Linked DNA regions of Homo sapiens: all the other regions are linked to region 1. Evidence: promoter capture Hi-C in human tissues and cell types (Jung and others, 2019). All regions are on one chromosome and are shown on one strand. Each heading gives the region's core, a stretch centred on a gene start or on the middle of the fragment in contact. The rest is flanking DNA. Distances are from core to core; before and after follow the strand shown.

Region 1 (5,092 bases), core at 2,593-5,092:
TTTTTTTTTGAGATGGAGTCTTGCTCTTTCACCCAGGCTGGAGTGCAATGGTGCAGTCTCGGCTCACTGCAACCTCCACCTCCCGGGTTCAAGTGATTCTCCTGCCTCAGCCTCCCGAGTAGCTGGGATTACAGGTGCCCATGACCACGCCTGCCTAATTTTTGTATTTTTAGTAGAGATGGGGTTTCACCATGTTGGCCAGGCTGGTCTCGAACTCCTGATCTCATGATCCGCCCTCCTCAGCCTCCCAAAGTACTGGGATTATAGGCGTGAGCCACCGCGCCCGGCCAATACTGGTTCTTTGGTGATATGATTATGAGTGTGTTTTCTTTCTTTTTAATTTTTTTCCCACATCAATCATACATGGCTTTTGTTGTAAGACAATTATTTTTAAAAATTGAATAAAATTAAGAGGAATGACTTAGGGATAGCTCTGGGAATGAGAAGATGAGAGGATCAAGGATGGAACCTTGATCAATAGCCTTGATACCTCTGGCCCTGTGGCCCCTGTCCGTGCAGTTGACTATGTCTTGAGGGTGCCACCCATGTCATATCTGCTACATTGCTGCATGGTAGAATACAACGAGCAGACTGCTACAACTATGAGCTTTGGGCAAACTCATATATATATATATATATATATATAAATAATTTTATTTTATTTTTTTTGAGACAGAGTATTGCTGTGTTGCCAGGCTGGAGTGCAGTGGTGCAACCTTGGCTCACTGCAACTTCCACCTTCTGGGTTCAAGCAATTCTCCTGCCTCAGCCTCCCAAGTAGCTGGGACTACAGGCACACACCACCACGCCTAGCTAATTTTTGTATTTTTAGTAGAGACAGGGTTTCACCACGTTGGCCAGGATGGTTTCGATCTCTTGACCTCGTGATCCGCCTGCCTTGGCCTCCCAAAGTGCTAGGATTAGAGTCGTGAGCCACCATGCCCGGCCTTTTTATTTTTTATTTTTTTTTTGAGACAGAGTCTCATTCTGTCAACCAGGCTGGAGTGCAATGGCATGATCTCGGCTCACTGCAACCTCCACCTCCCGGATTCAAGTGATTCTCCTGCCTCAGCCTCCAGAGTAGGATTACAGGCTCACACCGCCACGCCCGGCTAATTTTTGTATTTTTAGTAGAGACGGGTTTCACCATGTTGGCCAGGCTGGTCATGAGCGCCAGACCTCAGATGATCTGCCTGCCTCAGCCTCCCAAAGTGCTGGGGTTACAGGCATGAGCCACCATGCCTGGCTGGACAAACTTTTTGATTCCCTAAGTCTGTTTTCTCATCTTTATAGTGGGGATAACCTTCCTCAGAATAGTTATCTGACAATAAAATGTTTACAGACATACAACAGTTGCTTAGTAAATATTAATTAGTCCATCCTCCCTTTCTTAGACATCCTTCCCTGCTAGACCCAGGTTTGACTTCCAGGCCCTTGTTTGGCCCTCACAGTGGGAAGTGACACCCCCTCTCTCTGAATGCCCGAGGTGCTGTTTGCACTTCTATTGAACCCAGAACTTTGCTCTGACCTAGAGATAGTGGCTAGCTCTTCTCCGTCACTGACTTGTTCGACTTGTTCCCGGTCTAGAGTTTGGTCATCTCTCTATCCTGGTAGCAACTAGCACAATGCTTTGTACATTGAGGGTTCTCTAGAATTTTTATTGACTAAATTCATGTTTTTTTTTACAACTTGGCTAATAGTGGAATACTCAAAGGCTGGATTACCCAAGGGTTAGTTTATTCTGACCTCTTGGAATTTTTCTCCTCCCAATTTGTAACTCTGGCAAGGTTTATCTTCCAGTCTGCAGAGATGACCAGCAGAGAGAGACAAAGAAGGAAGCTCACTTAGACCTCTAGGCTCCCTGTCAGAAGCTCTGGGGAGAGAGTTGGAGGATGAAGAAGGGGAAAGTAAAAGCTGTTTACCCCCAGGCTGGGTAGGAGTGTGGTCTCCCACCTCTCCAGGGTTTAGACTGTCAGAACTCCAGCAGGACAGCTTGGGGGCAAAGGGAATTGGGTAGACACATCATTCTACAGGCCTACGTCCTTTTTGCCTAGCAGTCGAATCCTTCTCTCCATTCCTGCCTCTTGTGGCTGGTGCTGTGTATCTAGCCATTTTCCCCTTCCCCTGCTTCCCCCCAAGTGGGCACGCCAGCTTGCTCAGGTGCCCATCCTTCCTGCTAACACCTTGTTAGGTTAGGGAGGCAGTCTGGCGCTGACGAAGGACCTTTGGGTGCCAAGTTAGTAGACCTGTGTGACCTATAGCAAGTTGAATAAGCTCCCAGAGCCTCAGTTTCTGCATCTATAAGCTGGGAATAGCTACACGGTCTCTGTCCTCTGTCTCATCCTAGGATTACTGACGGGAACCAAGTGAGATTTATGAGACTTTACGAACAGGCAAAGAGCGCTTTATAAAAGCCAGGTGTTTCCAGTGTTCACTGTGGGGCTTTCTCCTGGTAACTACCCACCAAAGCCTCCCTGTCCGCCCCGCCCCGGCTGCATCGGCCTCACCCACTGCATCACCATCTTTTCCATCACTGTCTTCCTGCGTCTCAGAAGTCCTGTTTCTGCATCTCCCCTGTCCATTTCCGGGTCTGGCTCTCCGGCCCCTGAGACCCCTCCAGGGACTCTGTTCTCCTTCTCCTTGAGGCACTCGCTGCCCAGGCGCCCCCCACCCGGTGCGCCCTCCTTTGGCACAGCCGCCGGGCCAGAGAATCGCCCAATAAGAGCGCCGGACTGTAGTCTGACAGCTCCGGAAGCGGCCAATCGAGCCGGGCCAGGGAAGGGGGGCGCAGCGCCGGGGCTGAAGTTGGGTTAAATGGGGGGAGGGGGATTAAAGGGGGATACAAAAGAGGGGAGCTAGGACTGGGGGCGCTGGAGCCCTGGCCGGGGGCGGGGGAAGACCGCGCTCCACCCAGGTCTGGTGACGGGACCGCAGGCTGGATGCGGCTCCTAGTCCCAGGGAGGGAGGGGCGCAGCGAGAATTTTAGGTGAGGAAGGGGAACTGGGGTGCCCGCGGCCAGGCCTGAGGATGCCCGCGGGGCGCCGAGGCTGGGGCCATGGCCAGGCCGGGGGCGGAGGCGGCCTCGCGCGGCTGTGAGCCGAGGCCCGGGCGGCGCGGGGGGCGGGGAGGCAGCGGGAGGAGGGGATGCGGAGGGCTCTCCGGCGGCGGCGAGCGGGCGAGAAGGGAGGAGCGGCGCGAGCGGCCGGAGCGGCGCAGGGCCCGAAGCGTGCATGGCGCGCCCTGAGCCGGGCTCCCGCGGGCCCCCCCGGAGCGCCTCTCGGGCGCCGCGGCTCTCAGGCGGGCCCCTCTGGGCCGGCTGCTTCTGAGCCCCGGCGCTGGATCTCTGGATGCCTTACTCCCCGGGAGAAGCCTGCCTGCGTCGGGGCAGAACCGCGGCAGCGCTGCGCCGGATTCCGTCCTCCGCCTAGTCGTTCCGCGCCGGCCGCGGTGGGCCCGCAGCCGGCGACGAGGAGCTTGGGGCTTGCGAAGCGGGCGCGACAGCTCTCCGGGCCGGCAGGTCCCGGCCGGCCCCGCTCCGTTTGCGGGAAAGGGAGAGGCGAGAGGGGAAGGGCCGCACCGCAGGAGCCGGTCCCTGACCCGGACCCCGCCCCCTGCGCGGACGCGCCGAAGGCTCGGCTCGGCTTTCGCCGGGGCCACGCATCCACTCTCGCCGCGAGAGGTGGGGGATGCGGGCAACGGCCCCCCCGGGCTCCAGGACCCTCCCCCCCGGGGCTCCGGAGCTGTTGCTCCGCCCGTCGCCCCCTCCCCCGTCCTCTCCACCTCCCATCCCACCTCCCCACCCCTCGTAAGAAAATAATGCTGGCTGGCGCCCGCACCTCCCAGTCGCTCCCAGTCCGCTGCGAGGAAAGCGCACCCGCAGTGTCTCTTCGCCGGGACCCCCGCCGAGCCGCCCTCGCCGCCGCCGAGCCCCGAGAGCAGCTGGGCTCCGCTTAGGCGGAATCAGCGAGCGCCGCGCCCGGGCACTGCCGGCCCGAGGAGGCACCGCCCGCAAGGACACCACTCCGTCCCGTCTCGTCCGCAACTCCGGCCCTCGTCGAGCTCGACGCGAGCCAGGATCCCGGACGTCTCTCCGCGTGCGGCGCAGCAGCAGCCAGACCAGTCCCTGCGACCCCACCTCGGAGGCAACTCCATTTCGGACCTGGGACTTCTGACGCGGATCCTCAGCTACTTCTCACCTCGGGGCTGTGCCCTCCTCCTCCGCTCAGGACGGGGGTGCCAAGATGCCCCGCTGCAGCGCAGGGCCCCGGGCCGCCCCCGACGTGTGACCCTAGCCTGGTCCCCCTGCTCGGCCGTCCGCCCTCCCCTTGGAGACCCCCGGCCCGGCTTCCGGGGGAGGAGGAAGGAGACGACGAGGCCGAGGGGGGGATGTCCGGCTCCAAAAGCGTGAGCCCCCCGGGCTACGCGGCGCAGAAGACTGCGGCGCCGGCGCCCCGGGGAGGCCCCGAACACCGCTCTGCGTGGGGCGAGGCCGATTCCCGCGCGAATGGCTACCCCCATGCCCCCGGGGGCTCTGCCCGCGGCTCCACCAAGAAACCCGGGGGGGCGGTGACCCCGCAGCAGCAGCAGCGCCTGGCCAGCCGCTGGCGCAGCGACGACGACGACGATCCTCCGCTGAGCGGTGACGACCCCCTGGCCGGGGGCTTCGGCTTCAGCTTCCGCTCCAAGTCCGCCTGGCAGGAGCGCGGCGGCGACGACTGCGGTCGCGGCAGCCGCCGGCAGCGGCGGGGCGCGGCCAGCGGGGGCAGCACCCGGGCGCCCCCTGCGGGCGGCGGCGGCGGCTCGGCGGCGGCGGCTGCCTCGGCGGGCGGGACGGAGGTGCGCCCTCGCTCGGTGGAGGTGGGTCTGGAGGAGCGGCGGGGCAAGGGGCGCGCGGCCGACGAGCTGGAGGCCGGCGCCGTCGAGGGCGGCGAGGGGTCCGGGGATGGCGGCAGCTCGGCGGACTCGGGCTCGGGCGCGGGGCCCGGCGCGGTGCTGTCCCTGGGCGCCTGCTGCCTGGCGTTGCTGCAGATATTCCGCTCCAAGAAGTTCCCGTCGGACAAACTGGAGCGGCTGTACCAGCGCTACTTCTTCC
Region 2 (5,092 bases), core at 944-3,443, 43 kb before region 1:
AGTATGTGTGTACCGTAAAGAATATATCTTATCTGGAGCTCAGCCTCAATCATGTCTTAACAAAATGACAGGTCTCAGAAAGGGGGAGCTCAATAGCTCAAAAGTGACAAGTCCTTTTCACAGCACCATTCTCAGAACACCTCTGAGTAACGTGTTTGCCAGTAGCTATTCTCACTGATGCACTGATGGCCCTGAAGAAGCGGATCCAGTCACATAGGAAAGGAGGCTGTGTTAGTGAAAGCACATGGAAGGTGTTGCTTTAGAAAGGTAGTCAGGAAAAACATTCAGGAATAGATTTATACACCATTATTGTTTTATTTTTAAATTTTCATTCACTCTTCTGTTTGGATACTTTTGCTAATTAACTTCCTATGTTAATTTCCACCAAGCTATAAGTCCATAGTCAGTAAAACATTCCCCTTGGGCTGTCATGAGCTAAAAGCAGTGTCATCTCCGCATGTTGGAGCAGCCAAGAAATAGTTTGGTACTACCGACATTGTCTAATCCATGTCACATCCTCATACAATTTAATTGCTCAACCATGCATTTAAAACTCCTCAAGAAAGGATTGGTACTGCAACTGTAGGTAAACTGAAAAAAAATAAGAAAGAAAGAGTTGGATGAAAATGTGAAAGCCCAAGTTTAGATGTGCATTAAGTATTAAATAGCACAGTATCTTCTTCATGGAGCCTTTTTTCCTCCCCCATCCCCTGCAGCTGCCTTTTTTTGGGGGCAGGGTGGGGGTTGATGTTGAACTTTAAGAGTTTAAAAGTTTAGCTTATTGAGTAGTTGTCATTTAAAATATAATTGCGAATATCAGAAAACTCATACTGGAAAACTAAATTTTTTTTTTCTCTTGAGACGGAGTCTCGCTCTGTTGCCCAGGCTGGAGTGCAGTGGCGCGATCTCAGCTCACTGCAAGCTCCACCTCCCGGGTTCACGCCATCCTCCTGCCTCAGCCTCCTGAGTAGCTGGGACTACAGGTGCCTGCCACCACACCCAGCTAATTTTTTTTGTATTTTTAGTAGAGACGGGGTTTCACCGTGTTAGCCAGGATGGTCTTGATCTCCTGACCTCGTGATCCACCCGCCTCAGCCTCCCAAAGTGCTGGGATTGCAGGCATGAGCCACTGCACCCAACCCCTGGAAAACTAAATTTTTAAGTGCTTATTTTTATAGAAGTTTGAAAATTTAATGCAGGCAGGTGTGTAATAAATTATTTTTGAATTGAACATTAAAATTCTGCTTCTTAAAGTCAGCACTCAACTTGGACATGTTGAAATTAGAATCTATTCTTGTATTTGATAGACAAAATATGTGGGAAAGATTTTTTGCATGACTTTTCTCTCATTTTATTCTTCCATAATGTATTTCTACTATAAAATAGAATCAACTTGGGTTATATTTGTCATTTACTTTGTTCTGTTAGATTTTTTCAGTTGTTTTTGGAAAAATTCTAGAAATCAGGATGAAAAATGCAGCTTTTCCAGGGTTGCTGGACTGGGGGTTTTATTTGGGCCTCCTTATTATAATTTGTCACTACTTATAAAAAACATTCTGTTGCAAACAGTGGTGTTGCATTGAATTGAACTTTGGCAATGAGAACACAGCACACAGCTCCCTTTTCAAAAAGGGTCTCAACCCCAGTGTGTATTTTTGTACATCAACATTTAGAATACTTATGGCAGATAAGTAAGGCATGTCACTGTGTCCTTCAGTAACCTCTCTCAGTAACTGGTTTCTTTATCCCTAACATGAATTCATTTCTCCTTTGAAGTCATTTATTATTTTATAAATTGAGAACAACCACACCACCAAATGTCACACCTTCTTATAAAGTGTGAACAAGGAAGGTCATGTTTTTGTGGGTATTTTGTCAGACTTAGAGGTTTCATTTCAGGGCATAGTCAAAGGCATCATCCTCCCAACTACCCACTTGATTATGTATTTCAGATCCCTCCGTGGGGGCCTTCTTCTGACAGAGAATTCTTTGAGGTCCGCAGTAGTGCTTTTGTCAGCACAGACTGCTAATCTACATCTTGCTGCGTTCTGTTTGCTGAGGTTGGGCTTATTCATTTAACACATACCAACCATTATCCAGAGGCACCATGGAGAGTTAGTCATGGAATAAAGCACTGTCCTTGCAGATGAAAAAAGTCTCCAGAGCAGACTTCTGACAGGAAAGGTTTAGATGCTGGAGAGTTGAAGAGGTGTAAGAAGAGATCGTGCCCTCATTTTTCACTTATTTTTTTGGTTATTCATTTATAATAAAAGGTTGGCATTGATATGGTACAACCTGCAAATTACTTGCAGTTCTGAGTTTCAGATAAAACATTATAAAACATTAAATTCAATACATACTGCTCCTTTGAAATTTGGGTAAAAAATTGTACAACCGTATATATAGTCATTTTTGTATTTTTTCTATGTTGTGAAAACCAAAATTGTAATTTTATAAGTCTTTGATTCACTAAAATTATATAATTTAAATGTATTTTTTGTATATTTAGAAATAAGGAGTCCAGAGACTACGCTTAACTTTCTATGCATGCATTTGAAAGCTGTTTTTACCTGATAATGTAGTAATAAGTTGTATTCATAAAATACTGATCTGTGTTGCATTTCAAAATAAACTGGTGTGTGCTCTGCCTGGATTTGAAATACCTACCAGTGAGTGCAGTGATTTTTCATAGTCAGTAGGCCTGAATGTGGTGTTGCAGGAATATGGGAGAATTTCAGTTCAATTATGGACTCCAGCTCTTTGACAATTTTAAAATCTAATTCTGCTATTCATAATGGTTCTGCACTTACAGGAAAGACAGATTATATTAAGAGGTTTCCAAAAAGTCCTTCCCTGCCAGTCAGTCTTCAGGCTAAGCCAGTCTGCAAGCTGGCTGCAGAGGGACAAGGGGTTCCTCATGCAAGTGACCAGGGAATCTAAGATATTAATCAGCATGGGGTTGAGGAACCTTGTCTTATAACAAGCTGGGGTTTTGTTAGTGTAACTTTTCTTTTTTTGTTTTGAGACAGAGTTTCGCTGTTGTTGCCCAGGCTGGAGTGCAATGGCACGATCTCAGCTCACTGCAACCTTCACCTCCCGGATTCAAGCGATGTTTCTGCCTCAGCCTCCCAAGTAGCTGGGATTACAGGCACCCGCCACCACACCTGGCTAATTTTTTGTATTTTTAGTAGAGATGGGGTTTCACCATGTTGGCCAGGCTGGTCTCGAACTCCTAACCTCAGGTGATCCACCCGCCTTGGCCTCCCACCACGCCTGGGATTACAGGTGTGAGCCACCACGCCCAGCCTGTTAGTGTAACTTTTCTAACAGAAGTTCAGCGGGAGATCCTGTTGCCCAGCACTGTTCATCTTACATTAAAGCAAGATGTGGTGAAGTTCAAGTACCTCATTCTGAAAATGCCTCCAAACACAGGAATCCCAGGAGTGGCCCCCCCTTACTCAGGCTCGCAGTAAGAAGTGGTGGGAAGGACACTGCCTTGGGGTGTCCTCCGCTGGGTCACAGCTGATCTAGCTCTAGGCCTCTGGTGCTGGGTATGTTCTAGTCACTTTTCCCAGTGACGACTTGATCATGGTGCCTGTAGCAGTGATGTGCTCCCCACCTGAGTCTGCCAGCTCTTTCTCAGATCATCACCACGGCCTAAGAGTGTGGTCTTTGTTCCAAAGGAGAACACTTCCCTTCTAAATGCCATCTGATCGCAGCCTAGATGTTCCCAGCTCAGAGGTTAGACCACCTCTCCTCATGTAGAGCCTATTCAGCTTCAGAGGTTGGCTTTTTCATTTATGAAAAAAGTATTGCAGCTGAAACTGCGGAACAGATGGTAAAGTTAATAGTAGAGGCTACTCAGAAAACACAACCTTTACAATGTTAGCATGGTAATGGAGACAAGGGCTTTCCAATTTGTCATTGTCATATTTTGTGGCAATTATGTGTACTATGTTAATATAAGCCTTAGCCTGGAGGAATTACCATTGGTATAATTAAGAGACCTACTGTTACACAGCATTCCAAAAATACTGCTGTGTTTTTCTATTCCCTTTAACAAGAATGAGGACTAGCTTTTCAATTCCTTTTATTATTGAAAAGAAAAAAATCCCAGCCTCACAAATAGCCTGGCTCATTGTCATACAGTTTAATGGTGAAGAAACTGTTCTAAGCAACTATTACCAAAATTAGCCATACCTATTAACATTTCTCTGCCTATAACAGAACCAGAGTTAGAAGAGAGAGCAGTGTGGTTATTTGACCAATACTTCTTTTAATTTAAAGATATATTAGTGCTATGAGGGCAAGTCTCAATACCAAAAATAATCCTTCCCACAAAAGGCAATTCACCCTAAAACCTCATTTGGTGAGCAAAAATAAGAATGTGAAAGGCTGTGTATATAAGCACCTAGAGTGCCCATTTCATAAATATTTTTATGTTTGGAAGTCACGCTTTCTGCTCCCTAATTCCAGAGCATAGACTTGTTACCATGGTAGTGCTTTCACATCTATCTTTGGCTTTGGGTGCAGGCAATCCAGATGTGTTTCCAGATGCTGCACTTGGTTAAAGCCGGGATCTGTATTTCCCCCTCGGTGTTGTCGTAGCCAGGCTTCCCCACTCGGGGGCAGCACCTCACAAGCGATTGGGGCCTTAAGAGCCAAAGGAGTTTGGGAAACAGCTTCATCCCAAGGACACGGAAAGGGGCAGAGGCACTCTAATGAAAATCAGTCACGGATCTTTTATTGTCCATATAAAGCAAAGACAGATTTTAAAGCATATTCTGGAGGAGTACAGGAAATAACACTTTTTTTGGAGCAAAGAAACCAGCTTGGGTGCGTGCTTCGAGGCTCAATCTATTTTCTCCCAGCTGCAGAGCCCTCCTCCCCATCGCAGACCCTGCAACTACTTGGTTTTGAAAAGCAGAGCGCTTTTGGAGCTGGCTTGCAAAGCAGGTGTCAGCCCTCCTGTTTCATGGAGAGCCTGCTTGTTCATATTTGAAACGTTCAGGGAGGCCAGTTCCCACTCTTATTCTGTCTCTGGATATTTTTGGAGGGTGGCCTGGGCCATGAGAAAATGTCAGGCCACCTT
Region 3 (5,092 bases), core at 942-3,441, 39 kb after region 1:
CCACCGCAACACAGAGGCTGTCAGTGCTGTAACTGCTGTCTTCATACGCTTGAAATCTCACTCCCAAACCATCCCTGCAGCCCTGGCCCCTTTGGGAACCCCAGTGTACATGGTTTCCCGGCTTTTGGAGGACACAGTGGTTGCGTTGTCTGGCATCTATTCAGAGTTGGGGGAGAGCCCGCAGGGACGTCCTATTGGGTCCTTTCTCTGTTACTGTCTGTTCTTACTTCTCCCACCACACCCTGTCTCCTGTTGGGGCGAATACCTTCTCTAAGGGCAGCCTGGTGGCAGGAATCTGCAGTAGGACACAGGGCCCCCAGGCCATGGCTAGAGAGGCCTATGAGGCAAAGTGTCCTCTTTCCTGCCGCAGCGTGCCCCTTGTGGTCAGGAAGCCTCGAGGTCTAGCTTCGTTCCCTCCTGCTGTCTCTTCCCATCCTCCCCTATGTGGAGGAAGGTTTTATGAGTGGGGGCTTGTTGGCACCTTCTCAAAAGGAGAGGGCAGGCATCCTGAGCTCCTGGATGCCGGCAGAGCCTAGGGTAGGATAGTTCAGATGCCTGTCTGGGGAGAGGGCATGTTCCAAAGGTGGAGTTCTGTGTGGGTGGGCTTGGTACCTGGGCCCACAGGCTGCGGGGATGGACACTGGGCTATGCGGGGGCAGGGGATGGGTGACAGGGCCACAGTGAGTCCACCTGGGACTCTGTTGTGCTGTCAACGGTGGACAGCCCCACGTGGGCCTGCTCACCTGTATTGACATGTCAGCTCAGGTGTCCCATTAGGTTAAGCTGTGAGCCCAGAGGCTTTGGTCCCAGGGCCACCCTGGTCACCAGGCTGTGAGGACAGGAGCAACTGTTGCCCCACCCTGCTTTGCCTCTGGAACGAGTCCTGGGGTTGGATTGGGGGTGCTGGGCCTGGCACTCTGTGGGAGCTTGGACTTAAAACATGTTGCTGGCTGGGGGTTGGGGATAAGAGGCAGGGGAAGGAGAAAGATAGGCACTGGGATCCTGGGCCAGGCTTAGGCCTTTGTCCTTTGTCCCCTCAGGCTGAGTCAGCATCTGTTGTCTCAGGAGTTTCTGTCTCAGTTCAGGCACTATGAGTGTTACCTCCCCTAGGTGCCGAGGACAGGCCCCCAGCCCGGTGATCTAACTCCTTAGTCAGTGATCGGTGAGGCCTGTCAGGGGTCTGCTCCCTGCTTATTTGAGGCTCTGGTTTCCCTTCTGAACTGAAGGGAATCCAGTCCACTTGCCAGACACTTGTTTTGCTCTTATACTTGCTCAGCCCTCTGAGTGGACCCCAATGGTGGATGGCAGGCTCTCCTCGAAGCAGGCACTAGTACGCCCTTGACTGTGGATTCCAGGAGGCCCAGGGAAACTGCAATGGAAGAGGTTGGTGGAGGCACAGGGCAAGGAAGAAGAGCTTTCTGGCAGACTGAAACAGGAGGCTCATGGAGGGAACGGGTTAGGCTTGGTAGTAGAGGGCATATTTGACAAACCTGAGTGATTTGGTATAGCTGCTGCTTTGGAGATAAGTGGGTGCTGGAATGGCTAGTGCTAAGGAATTTAGGCCGTATCCAGTAGGTGATAGCTATTTAAGTAGTTTGAATAAGGATGGGGTGAGATGGCTCACGTCTGTAATCCCAGCACTTTGGGAGGCCCAGGCAGAAGGATCACTTGAGGCCAGGAGATTGAGAGCAGCCTGGGCAACATAGTGAGACTGCATCTCTACAAAAAATGAAAAAGTTAGCCCAGCAAGGTGATACATGCCTGTAGTCCTAGCTACTCAAGAGGCTGAGGTGGGAGGATCGCTTGAGCTCAGGAGTTCGAGGCTGCAGTAAGCTATGATTGCACCACTGCACTCCAGCCTGGGCGACAGAGCTAGTGAGATTCTACCTCCAAAAAAAAAAGAATGGATGTGATGGTGATTAATCTAAGAGCTGCCATTGTTGAGCCTTTATTTTATGTCCTTTATGTGTCCTGTTAGATTTCATTCTTACTGCAGCTTTCTAAGGTGGACGTTATGTTGGTTTTCACCTGGTCATTCCAAAGGCAGACAGAGTGCAGGATGTGGCCAAGGGTGTTGGAATAATAGGAGATTAGCCCTTCCCCAACAGGCAGTTCACCTTGGGATATGGCTCTACCATTCCTACTTATGCCTGGGAGGTACGGGGTGGCCCCAGGCTGCTGTGTTGAGGAGGAGGAGGAGGAATTGGGGGATAAGGGTTGGGGGAGGAGGAGGAGGGGGATGGAACTCTGCCAAGACAGAGCTGCCCTGGAGGGAGTCTTTGTGGGCTGTTTCCTGAGGAGTTCTACAAGGGAAGCTTCCAGTCACTCTGCCATCCTTAAGGGTGATGAGCTGTGTTCCAGCCCCCATCCTTCCCTCCCTTTCTCATTCTCCTAGTTCTGGTGGAGGCCCTGAGGGCAGATGGGGGCCTCTCACTGGGTTGACCGGATCCAGCACCTGCTCATGTGGGAGAGCAGAGGGACCTCAGGGCTATGGGGCCACACTGCCTCAGGGAACACAGGTCTCAGTTGGGGAAGTGGGTGTGGGAGGACCTGTAGAAAAAGAGATTTATTACTGCTCTTTCCCTGCCAGCTGCGTGTTTGCCTTTCCCAGGTCAGTGGGCTGGTGACGAGAGAGGGCAAGTTAATTTATATCCAGGTGATAGATTAGCTCCTCTAACCACAGGGAACTTTCTCAGCTCATCCAACTGGGGCTTGGAGGGTGGGAGGGGCCGGTGAGTGAGGGAATGTCTCTGGGGCAGTTTCTACCTTCTGCCCGGCCTCTGTTAAGGAAGCAGGTGAGGTGCAAGAGGGGCATCTCAACATGAGTGGGCATCTTAACCTCCTGGAGAGCTTGCTGGGCTCCCAGAGTTTCTGAGTCACAAGGTCAGAGGTGGAGCCCAATAATTTGCATGTCTAGCTGCTTCCTGGGTGATGCTGCAGCTGCTCCTGCTCTGGATATCCCACTTGGAGAACCACTGTGCTAGATAATCAGTTGAGGATTTTTGGTGGTGCTTCCCTTACCTATCTGTGCTGCTTGGACAGGACTATTAGCAGGAACACATCCTTTCCACCTGTGAAAGCTGCATCCCACCTTTAGACCCTGACTCCAAGGATACCTTCTCCAGTGGCCACCCTGAGAACTAGCATGTGCTGGGCCGTCTGTCCTTTTTCCCCACATGCTACCTGGTTTCATGGCCTGCGACTGTACACACCTGGAGTATTGGGACTCACTCTTACCAATCCCTGGGGGCCCCCATGGCACCTAGCACAGCCCCTAGCACATAGAGGAACTAGGTGTTGAGTGGATATAGTTAAAGCAGACCCTTATAAGGGTTAAACTTTTCTAAAAACCCAAGGTCAGATGGGGAGCAGATTTTATAAAGACTTTCCAGGCTGGTTATAGGCAGAGCCAGATCAAGAGCCTGGCTGCCTGTATAGATAATTTTATAGAAAATATTTCATAAGCTTAAAACACCAGCTAGCTCTCTAAATCTTTTCTATACTTTATCTACAGAGATACATTTTTATGTAAGTAAATGTGGTTTGTTATAGCTATTTTTATTTTATTTTATTTTTTGAGTTAGAGTCTCACTCTGTTGCCCAGGCTGGAGTGCAGTGGCAGGACCTCGGCTCACTGCAACCTCTGCCTCCTGGGTTCAAACGATTCTCCTGTCTCAGCCTCCCTAGTAGCTGGATTACAGCCACCTGCCACCACACCTGGCTAATTTTTGTATTTTTGGTAGAGATGGGGTTTCACCATGTTGGCCAGGCTGATCTTGAATTCCTACCCTCAGGTGATCCACCCACTCGGCCTCCCAAAGTGCTGAGATTACAGGAGTGAGCCACCATGCCCGGCCGAGTACAGCTAGAACTTTGTGTCTGCTTTTTTTTTTTTTTAGATGCAATCTTGCTCTGTCGCCCAGGCTGGAGTGCAGTGGCGCCATCTCGGCTCACTGCAACCTGCGCCTCCTGGGTTCAAGTGATTCTTCCGCCTCAGCCTGTCGAGTAGCTGGGACTACAGGCGCATGCCACTGTGCCCAGCTAATTTTTGTATTTTTAGTAGAGATGGGGTTTCACCATATTGGGCTGGCTGGTCTCGAACTCCTGACCTCGTGATCCGCCCACCTCGGCCTCCCAAAGTGCTTGGATTACAGGCGTGAGCCACCGTGCCCGGCCAACGTCTGCCTTTAAAAAAAAAAAAAAAAACAAAAAACGTAACATTTGTATGCTAATTTTCTTGCTGAGTGTACAAATGAATGTCTTTTGTGTGCTGTTCCTACATTATCTCACTCGATTCTCATAACGACACTGAAAATACGTGTTACGACCATGTTCATGCGGTAGAGCATCCCTTGGAAGTGATGTTCCATGATTTGCTTAATGTGTCCCAGGCATCAAACATGGAACTGGTGTCTAGATTTTTCACCGTAGGTCCAGGGCTCTTTGTATTCTCTGAGACCACCTCTGATATTTCTTTTTATGTGGCCACTGTACATAATTCTGTACATAATTGATGCGTTTTCTAAAAAACCACGCTTTAAAAAATTGAGATGAAATTCAATTTTCCACCTCTGTCTATCCCAAACATTTTTGTCAGCCCCAAAGAAAACCCAATACCCATTAGTAGTCACTCCGAATTTCCTCCTCCCCTCAGCCCCTGGCAACCACTAGTCTGCTTAATGTCTGTATGGATTTACCTATTCTGGATATGTCCTATAAGTGGAATCATAACAATATGTATCTTTTTGTGTCTGACTTCTTTCACTTTGCAACTTTTTTTTTTTTTGAGACAGGGTCTCACTCTGTTGCCCAGGCTGCAGTGCAGTGGAATGATCATATAATAGCTCACAGTAGCCTTTATCTCCCTGGCTTAAGCAATCCTCCAACCTCAGACTCCCTAGTAGCTGAGACTGCAGGTGCATACCACCGTGCCCAGCTAATTTTTTTTTTTTTTTTTTTTTTAGTAGAGATAGGGTCTCACTATGTTGCCCAGGCTGGTCTTAACCTTCTGAGCTCAAGCGATACCTCCTGCTTTGGCCTCCCAAAGTGCTGAGATGATAGGGATGAGCCACTATACCTGGCATTTGCAAAA

Evidence for each region. Contacts are between HindIII fragments. The study calls those that stand out against the background at their distance.
Region 2: a fragment that was not itself captured here is called in contact with the fragment with the promoter of ADCY5 in region 1 in 1 of the 25 tissues and cell types used here (adrenal gland).
Region 3: a contact is called between a fragment that was not itself captured here and the fragment with the promoter of ADCY5 in region 1, in 3 of the 25 tissues and cell types used here (dorsolateral prefrontal cortex, hippocampus and stomach).

The regions. Positions count from the first base shown.
Region 1 is chr3:123,447,840-123,452,931 of GRCh38, reverse strand. It overlaps ADCY5 (adenylate cyclase 5), which reads left to right and starts at 3,842. Exons shown (of 21, transcript NM_183357.3): 1 at 3,842-5,092. The coding sequence starts at 4,387. RefSeq lists an enhancer at 4,781-5,092. The HindIII fragment of the contact is 15,282 bases long and covers 1-5,092 here.
Region 2 is chr3:123,489,122-123,494,213 of GRCh38, reverse strand. It overlaps HACD2 (3-hydroxyacyl-CoA dehydratase 2), which reads left to right. Exons shown (of 7, transcript NM_198402.5): 7 at 1-2,660. Among named protein-coding and RNA genes, the nearest start is that of ADCY5, 43 kb to the right of the region's middle. The HindIII fragment of the contact is 7,460 bases long and covers 1-5,092 here.
Region 3 is chr3:123,407,460-123,412,551 of GRCh38, reverse strand. The region is part of intron 1 of ADCY5 (adenylate cyclase 5); the gene reads left to right. Among named protein-coding and RNA genes, the nearest start is that of ADCY5, 39 kb to the left of the region's middle. RefSeq lists an enhancer at 191-716. The HindIII fragment of the contact is 4,514 bases long and covers 1-4,448 here.